Linked DNA regions of Homo sapiens: all the other regions are linked to region 2. Evidence: promoter capture Hi-C in 16 types of primary human blood cells and fetal thymus (Javierre and others, 2016). All regions are on one chromosome and are shown on one strand. The core of a region is centred on a gene start or on the middle of the fragment in contact, and the rest is flanking DNA. Distances in the headings are between cores, read along the strand shown.

What was found. Contacts are between HindIII fragments. The CHiCAGO score rates a contact against its expected background, and 5 or more counts as called.
Region 1: a fragment that was not itself captured here is called in contact with the fragment with the promoter of BLK in region 2 in 2 of 17 cell types (total B cells and naive B cells); the score reaches 12.4 in total B cells.
Region 3: a fragment that was not itself captured here is called in contact with the fragment with the promoter of BLK in region 2 in 1 of 17 cell types (total B cells); the score reaches 5.4 in total B cells.
Region 4: a contact is called between a fragment that was not itself captured here and the fragment with the promoter of BLK in region 2, in 2 of 17 cell types (naive B cells and total B cells). The highest score is 16.4, in naive B cells.

What each region holds. Positions count from the first base shown.
Region 1 is chr8:11,686,371-11,689,189 of GRCh38, reverse strand. It overlaps a transcript of GATA4 not described here. Among named protein-coding and RNA genes, the nearest start is that of GATA4, 16 kb to the left of the region's middle. The HindIII fragment of the contact is 8,153 bases long and covers 1-2,819 here.
Region 2 is chr8:11,493,026-11,495,857 of GRCh38, reverse strand. BLK (BLK proto-oncogene, Src family tyrosine kinase) reads right to left here and starts at 1,471. Exons shown (of 13, transcript NM_001715.3): 1 at 1,267-1,471. RefSeq lists enhancers at 1,160-1,249, 1,260-1,449, 339-1,538 and a cis regulatory region at 1,158-2,778. The HindIII fragment of the contact is 7,699 bases long and covers 382-2,832 here.
Region 3 is chr8:11,733,647-11,736,724 of GRCh38, reverse strand. The region is part of intron 2 of GATA4 (GATA binding protein 4); the gene reads right to left. Among named protein-coding and RNA genes, the nearest start is that of LINC02905, 26 kb to the left of the region's middle. RefSeq lists enhancers at 276-325, 470-970. The HindIII fragment of the contact is 3,923 bases long and covers 1-3,078 here.
Region 4 is chr8:11,716,122-11,719,189 of GRCh38, reverse strand. The region is part of intron 2 of GATA4 (GATA binding protein 4); the gene reads right to left. Among named protein-coding and RNA genes, the nearest start is that of SNORA99, 12 kb to the right of the region's middle. RefSeq lists a cis regulatory region at 323-336 and an enhancer at 258-402. The HindIII fragment of the contact is 2,161 bases long and covers 582-2,742 here.

The DNA of each region.
Region 1 (2,819 bases), core at 271-2,770, 190 kb before region 2:
CTGGCCTGAAGAAACAGGCCCCATCCCTGGGGAGGGACAGTGAATTGACCCATGGGAGGTTCCAGAAGTCGTCTTGCAGCTTCTTGTCTGGGCAGCTAAGAGCAAAGTCGCTTATTGGATTTGCCGCTGCTTTGTTATTTATATTGAACTTTGGGTCTCAGGTCCACCACTGGAAGACTGGGAGTGATAAAAATATAAGGTAAACCGACCTTTCTGAATAACACATGAGAATTCATTAGTGCTCACCTCCCAAATAAATCATCTGTTGATTTTATTCATTTTCTGCAGACATTACAAATATTATAACTGCTATTGCCCCCATTGTTCCCTCACCCATCTCTCCACCAGTTTGTGCTTCAGGGGATTTGGGGATTAGGTTCTTAATTGGGGCCATCAATTCTTTGTCTTATTTTCTGCCTATGAATTTTCCTAACACTATTCTCATGAGAAAGATATGTCACTGGGGAGAAGGTTGAGGCAAGGCCACCTCCTCAATGTGTTCCTAGTTGTGGCTCCCCTAGTCACACCAGGCAATCTTTCCATTCCCTCCTGTCCCCATGCACACACTCCCCTGACACCCACTGACTCTGGGCATCACATAACGTCCCCACACAAAGATTTATAGGGTTGAGATTCAAGTGTGTGTGTGTGTGTGTGTGTGTGTGCATGCGCGCACGCGCATGCATGCATGTGTGCTTTATTTTGTCACCTCAGTAGGTTTAAAAAGTTCTTGATGGCTGGAATATCCTTTAGTAATTCTATAATCCCCTACAGTGGTCTGCACAGAGTAGGTACACAATACATACTCAAAAGAATGAATTAATGATTGAATATGTCTGAAGGTCAAATATAGAGCTCTGTATAAGAAATGTGCCTATTTCTGAAATGCAAAAAATGTTCCCAAGTATTATTCTTTTTCATATTTCAGGAGACCTCAGGCATAGACGCATTATAAATGTATAGCTTTGAAAATCAATTTGTTTTTCACTGTTTTGATCTCACGTGTGTGGGGGGCTCTTGAACTGCTATTTGCTTCACTTTATAACTTGCACCTTGGAAAGGCTGGATGATAAATGAGAGATGAATAATTCCTTATTGCTACTTATCTGCTGAATCTATAAACTGGTGTCAGCATTTACTCAGTTGGGTTTAAGCTGTGCCTGGTATACTTATTAACCTGCTTAAAATAAGCCATAAAAATGGGCTTGGTAGAAGGTACTTTTAACTAATTTTTAAAAATGACATTGGTCATTTTCCATGAACTCATGGAGTGACCTTTGGCAAATCACTCAACCTCATTGGGCAACACCTGCCAAATGAAACGGGGGCAGGGCTTGATCAGTTCTAGGAGCCTTGTAGCTGTGTAATTTTTTGATTTTTGGATGAGTAAGGGATCCCAATAAAACCTGTCAGAGCCATTACATATCAGCTCATGTAGACAATCTCCTGTATTCTTGGCTTTTCTCTGGAGGGTGAGGGAGGCAGCACTTGGTAGTTAGAGCAAGGCATTTTGAGTTCAATTCTGTTACTTATTAGTACTGTGACCTTTGGCTTTACAACATCTCTGAATCTCAGTTTTCTCATCTATAAAAAGGGGGAAATGGTCTAATAATACACCAGAGAGTTGCTGTGAGGTTCAAATGTGATGTATGTGATACCACTTTGATAAACCACAACAATTATTCATTGCCCCCAACTCACAGATGAGGGCACAGAGCTCTGTTTGGTTCAGCAGTTTGAAGCAGGGCCAAGAGGAGGATTGCTTGACCTCCCGGATTCTATTTTGATTACAGGTGGAGATTATTACAAAACTGTACAAAGATGGAGCACCTTGGATACTTCTCTGGATAATTCTCTGCGGGGGGAGGGTGGTCTATGGATGCCTAAAAAAAACTGTGCCTGAGGAGCCATTTCTGGGGATGCTAAATGGTACAGCGATAAGAAAAGCAGTCAACAACATACTGACCCACCCATCCCAGAATGCCTAGCTAGCAGAGAATGAAGCGTTTTTCAAAGGCAAGGGAAATCTCTTCCCTCCCAGCTGTGTCCTCCTCACTTCTCACATCTCTTGCTTTGGAAGGCATCCTCTGCACATCAAGAACACAGATGTCTGCTCAGGCTTTGGAGTTAATCCCCTTCCTAGAAAAGGGGCAGATTAAACAACTGTGGTTGAGGATTTTTTTTTTTTTTTTGAAACGGATTCTCACTCTGTCACCCAGGCCGGAGTGCAATGGCGCAATCTCGCTTCACTGCAACCTCCGCCTCCCGGGTTCAAGTGGTTTTCCTGCCTCAGCCTCCTGAGTAGCTGGGATTACAGGCGCGCCCCACCATGCCCAGGTAATTTTTGTATTTTTAGTAGAAACGGGGTTTCATCATGTTGGTCAGGCTGGTCTCGAACTCCTGACCTCGTGATCTGACCGCCTCGGCCTCCCAAAGTGCTGGGATTAGAGGCATGAGCTACTGCGCCCAGCCTGAGGATTTTGTTTGTAGAGAATTAAGTCAACAAGGGTGTCTGGAACTCACCCCTGCAAGAATCATCCTTCAGGAAAGTTCCTACCACTATGCCTGTGCAGTGTAGGGGGCTGGAAAATTACATGAAGATGGCTATGGTGCCTGTCTCGGCCTTGCTTGCCTTGTAGATGAAGAAGGGAAGAGATGAGCTTAGGAGGAGCTGCCTCCAGTCTTCAGAAAATTCTGTGATTTGCAAAAATTCTATTCACACTCCATTATCAACAAACACACCCACCCAACCAACGAAGGCCAACCTCAAAAATTTTTTTTAAATGTAGGACTTAGAGAAAGAAAATACCATTATTAAA
Region 2 (2,832 bases), core at 222-2,721:
ACGTAACCATGGTACATTTGCCAGAACTAAGCAGTAATTGTTACCACAATATTAGCGAGACCCCAGGTCTTGTTAAAATTTCACCTATTTTTCCACTAATGACCTTTGCGGTGTTGCTTTAGGATCCAATACAGGATGCGAATTCTGGGTTTGGGTGTCCTGACCATCATGTCTCCTCTGATCTGTGACGCTTTGCCTGTCTTTCTTTGTTTTTCATGACCTTGACATTTTTGAAGGTGAAATATGTTGTGGAATCTTCCCCAGTTTGGATTTGTCTGATGTTTTCTCATGATTTGACTGGGGTTATGAGTTGGTGGGAAGAACCGCACTGTCGTGGCAGTTCACAATAGCAGCCCAGCTTATTCCCGGTGATGCTAAGCTTGGTCCCTTGGTGAAGCTGGCATCTGCAGGTTTCTCCTCTACAGAGCTACTATTTCTCCCTTTCCATACTCTTAGTCCAAACCTCACTCAAGGTGAGGGGAATTAAGTCCCACTCTCCCGAGGGAGGAGGATATGCACATATCACAGCAATTTCTTCTGTTACTGCAAACGCACAATTCCTTAGTTCCTTGGTAATGTGGGTGGATGAGGGTGAACTTCATCCACCCGCATTACCAGATAAATGGAAACGTTGTCAAAACCTTACAATTTACACAAATCCTTTCAAAATATGTGATCAACTATGCTTTCCTTTTCACAGTTGGTGTTTCCTGGTGAAATAGATCTCTTAAACAAGAAGATCATCATTACATCTATTCAGTTACCCCATTCCTGAATGCCTGAAAAATGGAACAACTTCATTCAGAAACAAACAAATAAAACGAAAGCAACAGTCATTTGCCTTGAGCCAGATGCTCCCCGCCTGTGACCACTAACCTCTGTCAGCTCTGCACAGTCAATATCACCTCCTATCAAGAGGCCGAGTGACTCGCCGGGAGCGCAGCAGTGGCCTGTGTGTGCCCGCTCAACCCCCTCTCTACATCCCACGTCCCTTCTCTCCTCTGTGGCACATTCACTGCCTTTTCCAAAAAGCAGAATCTACCCTGGATGGATGACCTTTTATAAATTAAAAATTCTCAAAACTGGAAATGCACAAACCATGGAGCAATCTATTCATAGCTGAGGCAGCGATCCATTCATGCCTCTTCCTCCGTCTGTGGCACCCACAGCAATGTCCTTGCTTGCTTGCCCCACTACAGGCCTTACAGCACCATTTGCACAATTTAAAGGAAGACGATAAAGAACCCGGAAGACGCAGGGCCTCACCTTGGCAATGCTTCAGTGGTGTTTCACCATAGCTCTTCAGATCCTGACACCCTTACAGTGGAGCAGGCTCCTAGCGACAACGAGCAACTTCCAACACCATCCTAAAGCAAAAGCCAGTCCCAGATGAATTCTTCTCATCTCAATCAGTTTTCATGGCTTGTGGCTTTCTGCCGGCAGCAGACAGAGGTGGCAGCACCCCCGGTCTGCGATCAGAGCCTCCCCAGTCCCCAGTGAGCAAGTGCAACAGGGGCCCCGCCCTCCAGCCGAGCCCTTCTGAAGCTCCTGTGGGCTCCCTGGGTTTGGGGGTATCCCTCTGCTCCAGGAAAACTCGTGAGGAAGGACCATGAGCAGCTGCCCTGTCCCTGGCCCTGGGCAACGTGGGTCACAATGCCCTTCTGTCACCAGAAAGTTTTCTCCTGGGGTTTTGGTTTAACAGCACGGCTGGTATTTTTTCTGCACCAAGTCCGGCAGAGTTAGCAAACCTCCATGCTGACTCTACAAGGTAATTTGCCCTGCCGTGTGGACAAACGCTGCAGATCTCATGGAGAGGGCTTGGGCTCTGCCATGTGCCATCTGTGTGCACCAGGGCAGCCGTTCTTTCAGCCTCACTGGTTTTGCTTTGTCTTTAAATGATGCTAATAATAGCTAGCTCACAGGATACTATCAGCATTAAATGGTAGAATGGGTATGAATGGTGGGCATAGAATTGGTGTTTGGTAAAAGCTAATTTCCCATGTGTTTTACAGTACCCTAGCCAGTAGTTAGTTGACTTGGATCTCAGAGCCTCTTCAATGGTGGAAATTTGCTTGGCTATGAAAACTCAGAGGAGTAGAGAACAAGAATAATGGAGGTAACGGGAGAAGGATCCCAACATCTAGAGTGGTGAGTGGTGTCTGGAGTGGTGGGTGGCATCCTGTACACAGCAGTCAAAGGACCAATGGGACCAAGAAGGCTTCTGTGATGACGTCAGAGTCTTGCTGGTCCAGCCAGACACAGTGAGCCACTGGTCAGCTGGTTCCTTTCCACTAGTGTCTTGATATTGGCTTATAAGAGGAAGTCACTCGGTGGGCTCTCTCTTCTCCCTTCATAGTCTTGGATCCTTGAGAGTGGGTGTGGGAGGCAGACAGGGTAGCTTCTACCCCATGGTCCAGAATGTCAGCTTTCTCAAGGAGTTCATTTCCTTGGATTGGACTGAGACAATACTGAGCTATGAGTTGCAGGTTTGACAGGTGTTCATGTCAATAGACGCAGCAACGCAGAGTTCTGGGGTTTTAAGACACTATGGAAATAATCTGTTTCACTTCCCCAAGGGGTTTTGTGAGAATAAATGGATTCATGCATAAAAAGTATCTATTACAGTATTTAGCACATAATAAACTGCAAATACCTGGAAGCTGATGTGAATGTGGCTAATTGCTTTAAATCCCAAAGCTGATCTTCTCCACGTGGTAGCAGAGGGCTCACAACAATGTCCAGAACCCTGGGCCTGCTCAGTCCATGGCAGCTCCTGTTAATTTACTCTTACATTCACTTCCTGATACCTACTACATGGATCCAAACATGAAA
Region 3 (3,078 bases), core at 393-2,892, 240 kb before region 2:
AACTCTTTCTTCAAAGAAAATCTAATCTGAGGAAGCCCAACATTAAAGACAGAGGAATGCAATTGACTGGGTGAAAGGGTGGCTCCGCCTTCTGCCCACCACTCCTCCAGGTCCACATCCACACCCCCCGGGGTCTTGACGAAGGTCCTCCAGCCTCTAGAGGGCGCCCTGGGCTGCAGAGTTCCTGCCAAGCGCTGCTCAGGGCTCTCCTGATGCAGTGAACGGGGTCCGCCCCTGGCTTCGCTATCAGAAGCCACGCAGACCAGACTTAAAGGCAGAGGCAGGGGCAATTCCAGACGCAAGTAGAGGTGGACGCCTTAGCCAACAGTCATTTCACCTCTCTTGGTCTGGTCTCCACAACTCAAAAGTGCAGTAGTTGGAACAGATGATTTCTAGGCTCCTACCTGTGAAAGCATTCAACGTGGCACTGCATTCTAACTCTCATTTATGTTTTTAGTCCCTGTCCCCTTCAATTTGTGTTTAAATTACGCAATTTTTAATTGCTACAAAAATTCAAACAGGCCAGGCATGGTGGCTCTGGCCTGTAATCCCAGCCCTTTGTGAGGTCGGAGTATGGCTTGAGCTCAGGAGTTCAATACCAGCCTGGGCAACATAGTAACACCACATCTCTTAAATAAAATAATAATTAGCTGGGCTTGGTGGCCCTCGCCTGTAGTCTCAGCTACTCCAGAGGCTGAGGTAGGAGGATCACTTGAGCCTGGGACTTCAGGCCTGCAAGCGAGTTATGATCGCACCACCACACTCCAACCTGGGTGACAAAGCAAAACCCTATCTCAAAAAAAAATTTTTTTTTTCAAACAGGCAAACGGTACAGAAGAATGTCACGTAGAAACAAAAGGTCTCAGCTAGGCGCGGTGGCTCACGCCTGTAATCCCAGCATTTTGGGAGGCCGAGGCGGGCGGATGACCTTAGGTCGGGAGTTCGAGACCAGCCTGACCAACATGGAGAAACCCCATCTCTACTAAAAATACAAAATTAGCCAGCGTGGTGGCACATGCCTGTAATCCCAGCTACTGGGGAGGCTGAAGCAGAAGAATCGCTTGAACCCGGAAGGAGGAGGTTGCAGTGAGCCGAGATTGCACCATTGCACTCCAGCCTGGGCAATAAGAGCAAAACTCCGTCTCAAAAAAGAAAGAAAGAAAGAAACAAACAAACAAACAAAAAGTCTCCACCATCACCATGATCCCATCTCCAGGGGCAGAGGTGGCTAACAATTTTCCTGTTTTTCCAGATATCTTCCACTGCATTAATTAACATTTTTATTTTTAGAAATTTTAAAATTACATAAAAACACAAAGGACACTGTAACAATTCTGTTTATTCCCCCACCATCTGCTATCCAATCACTATATTGAATTTAGTGTATATCCTTCCAATTAATCTATATACTTCTACACACAGGGATAAATGTTCCTCTGAAGAACATAAGCATTGCTTTGCAATTTTAAAGATTTACATGAATGCTTTCTTTAAAAAATATGAAATATTTCAGTCACTGAGAAAAAAATATATAGCAAACACTCTTAAACCCACCACCAGCTTTTTCAAATCTTTGTTTTACCATATTTCCTTCAGATGTTTTTAAAGAAATACAACATTGCAGATACAGTAGATGCCTCTGTGTAACCCACAATTCCAGTCTCTTTTTTGCCTATTATGTTTCCCAGTTTTAATTATACATGTGGATCTGCTTTATTTGAGTTGATTTACAGTTTTCCATTATATTAATAAATCACATTTTACTTGTTCATTTCTTTATGGTTATGGACTAAACGTCTGTGAATAACCCAAATTTAGATCTTGCAATCCTAACCCACATGTGATGGTATTTGGAGGTTGGGCATTTGGGAGGTGAACAGGCCATCGGACGGAGCCCTCATGAATGGGATTAGTACCCTTATAAGAAGAGACAGAGGCTGGGCACGGTGGCTCACTCTTGTAATCCCAGCCCTTTCGGAGGCCGAGGCAGGGGGATCACCTGAGGTCAAGAGTTCGAGACCAGACTGACCAACATGGTGAAACCCCCCCATCTCTACTAAAGATACAAAAATTAGCCGAGCATGGTGGTGCATGCCTGTAATCCCAGCAACTCAGGAGGCTGAGGCAGGAGAATTGCCTGAACCCAGGAGGCGGAGGTTGCAGTGAGCCGAGGTTGCGCCATTGCATTCCAGCCTGGGCAACAAGAGCAAAACTCTGCCTCAAAAAAAAGAAAAGAAAAGACAGAATAGATATCTCCCTACACCCACCCCATGAGTGGATGCAGTGAGATGATGGTCTTCTGCAAAGCAGGCTTGGGTCTCTCACCAGACACCAATCTGCCAGTGCCGTGATCTTGGGCTTCCTGGCTTCCAGAACTTTGAGAAATAAGCGTTGTTAAAGCCACACATTCTATGGTATTCTGTTACAGCAACCTAAACTGGCTAAGACACTTACTGATATATATTCAGATTGTTTTCAGTTTTTTGCTGTAATAGCAATGCTTCATCAGGCATCCTTGTACATGTCTGTTTATACACATGAGAAAAGTGTATCTAGGATATAGGAGATATATTTTAGCCATGTTCAAATGTATATGTATAAAACACTTATGCTTGGTTTGGTGCTGTTTAAGCTGTTATGCTGTAACAAACAAATAGTTATTTGTTTGCTGTTCACATTACATGTCAGCTGCAAGTTGGCCGAAATTCTATATGTATGCTTCAATTGGACATGCAGGCCGAAGGCAAAACCTCTATGTGGTTCATGCCAGCCTCGTGGCAGGGGGCAAAAAGTAATGACAGAACCACGTAATGGCTCTTAATGCCTCTGTGTGGAAGTTGCATAGTGACTTCGAGTCACATATTCTTGATCAAAGCAAGTCTCATAGCCAAGCCTGTGTCATCGGGGTGGTGGAAATAATCCTCACCAGAAATGGGCTCCCTCAGTACAGGAAAGAACAGAGCAGTGTGCTGAACACACGTGGGATCATACCATGGATACTCCTCTGCAGCTGTTTCTGCAGGGACGCATATCTGTTTAGACATTTTTCCATATCAGCACAGATCTACTTCTCTCTTC
Region 4 (3,068 bases), core at 413-2,912, 220 kb before region 2:
ATACCTGATAAAATATCTGAAAAGGTCATTGCAGACCTTGACGGAGACACAATTTCAACCCAAGCTGATAAAACAACAACTAGCAAACTTTTATCAGAATAAAATGTAACTTTGCCATTTCCCAGCTCAATTGATGAACTCTTTTTTATCTAAAATGACAGATATCATAAGATAGGAAAACCTCTAGATAAGCAACCAAATTGAGTTGTTTGAATCAGATCTGATTGTCTGCCCCTGGTTCAAACTCCCACACCTGCTCGGAATGGGTCAATGAGCGCCTCCTGGCATGGTCCCGAGGGGTTTGGAAACATTGCAAAAGTGGTGAACTTTGAGACTTCAGCGTTTATTCTGCGATTATAATTAACCTGCTCACCAGTTGCTATCGATCAGTTCTAAATGGAGGCGATAAGGTTTGACTGGATTTCTAGAAGTAGAAATGGAGATTTCAACTGGGGAGTAGAAAGGAAGATTTAAAAAATAACTTAAGGACTGATTAGATTTTAAGAAGCAAAACTGGATTTGCGATTAGGGGATCCCAAAACCCATGGCTTTGATCTGCCTGGAAGAATCGTGAGGAAGCTTGAGTACAAAGGAAAACTCCAAAATTCAAAATTCCCACCAAATTGTGGTAGTAACTTCTTGATTTTTTATCCTCCAAAATAAAATATATCTGTAACTATTCAATGTGGGTTACAGACAGCCTCAAATTTTACTTGCAGAGGCTTTTCAATGACTTTAAACACACAGAATGGCCCACCTGTCTGGATTTTACTCCTCCTTTGGAGGGAAAATATATTTTAAAACATCAGGTCAATTCTTGGGCTCCTGCAAAATGCAGAAGGCCAGAAAACCAAATTCCCATCATTCAGATAAGAAACTTGAATATCGTGGCTCAATTCTGATTACAGAGCAGTAATAGATAAAAGCATAGGCCACCTGCCAGAAACAAGAAAACTTCCACTGATGGGCTGCTACATTCAGTTCAGACCAATTCCACGGGGCTTTTCCTGCCTGGGGTTTTAGTCATTGTCTTGATCCATGCCCCATTCTTATCTTTACTAAAATCATCATTATTGTGCTTTTATTATGATTTTCTCCTCTTCTTTCTCTGCTTTTACCACAAATATATTTGAAATCTTCAGAGAAAAGGGAACACAGAGGGTCAGTTATAGATTTCTCTTAGGAAAGGGATTTTTGAGTGAGCCATATGGTTTTGCTCTTAAGCAGCCAACAGTTCCCCTAGAGTTAGGAGAATCCTCCCATTGGAAGGGTCTGAATCCTGGGAAGTCTCTTTAGTTCTCTGCACACCAGAATCCAACGGCTAGAAAGGAAGTTTGTGCAACACTGGGATTCCTAACATTGCATTCCTGAACTGCAGAGCTTACAGTTGAGGAATGATACGGAAGATTCCGTAGGACGACATTGCTCCTAGAGAGACAGTGATTGGTGGGAAGCAAACGGAAACTCAGACAAGAAGCTACCCTGGGGAGAGGAAGCGGATGGGAGCGACAAGTCATGGAAAATCCTAAGGTTTAATAGAGCCCTTCAATCACACATAGCTTCTGGTTCTGAAGAGCCAAGTGCCCTCATATCAGATTTGGCAAATACAAAGTGTGGGGAAAGGGGGAAAGTACAATCCTGCAGGTTGGACTTACCTGGGTTCCAAACCAGGGCTGTTTACTACCCACGGGGACCTGAGATTACAGGCTCTTTCTGGGTATCAGCTTTCTTTCCAGCAAAACAGAGATCATCGTATCTACCTCTTGGAGAAAGACTTCAAAGTCCCTGGCATCAGATGATTTCTTCATTGACAGGGATCCACCTTACTGTTCAATGGAATGACATGCAAGATACAGGCTACTCTCGCTAAAAAGTTGTTAGCCAGTATCCAAACGTGAATGTGCCAAAACTTATAAATGTATTTTGTATAAATTAAAACAGATTCAAGATTATTCCTATTATAACCCCATTTATATTTTCTTCCCTGCCTTCTTTAGAAGGTAACAAAAGAGTAGCTCTAGAGATAGCCATTAAATTACTCTTAGTAACCAGTTTATGTTGTATGGCATATGGGGCCATGTCATGGTCTACCAGAGGTCAATATAGCAGAGCGATACTCCTTCCCAACAGAGCCTTAACAGCTGGTTCTGCAGGCAGGCTAGGACAAATAAGTTCCCAAAAGACAAATAGTTTCAGATGTCAGAAAAGTTGCTTCAAGTTCTTAAAGCAGCAGCTCGCGTTGGCAAGAACTGCCCTCTTCTGGAACAAGGAAAGGAAAACTAGCATACTTCCTCTTTCTTATGCAGACACAAGCAGCTACATTTGCAACTGGCTTCAGCTCTAAATTCAGTACAACTAAATTGTCTTAAAATTTGTTTAAAAGAATCACCTTGCCCTGGAGGAAGGTAACTTGTTCTTCACACAATCCCACCGCTGCAGCCGGTTAGTGGTTTTCAGGCAGGTTCTAACTCCAATATAACCTGAGGGAAAACTGCCTACCTGGAGAGGTCACCATTGCCTAGTACGTGACTGTTTGTGCCCACAAGTGGGGAAGCCACAGTAGTGTGGGGCTGGGGTGTCCGCCCATTGCTGATTTAGATCCACTACCAGCACTGAGACCAGGAGTAGAGATTTCCCCCTCTCAGTAAAGCAACCTCCTGTGAAATAAGCAAAATCAAAAGCCAAATACAGGATTGCCACTGAGGATGGTTTTGATCTGCCTTGAAGAATCTTGAGGAAGCTTGAGCATAAAGGAAAACCCCCAAAATTGTAAAAGAATAGGTAAAAGACAAATTTAATAAAAAACAACTTATGCCTTAAAGCAGTTTTCCTGTGCATCCATAAACACTAAATAGAGAATCTTCTTTAAAAAAAAAAGAAAAAGATGCTACTTTCAGGTTGATTCATGAATATCATGTATCTGTTTTTTAAAACTTAATTAGTTTAATATGTTTTTAAAATTAGGTAATATAGTCACATTCTCCAAATTCAAAAGGTTTCATTTGCATACCCATGTTCATAGCAGCATTATTCACAGTAGCCAAGACGGAGAAGCAACTCAGGTGTCC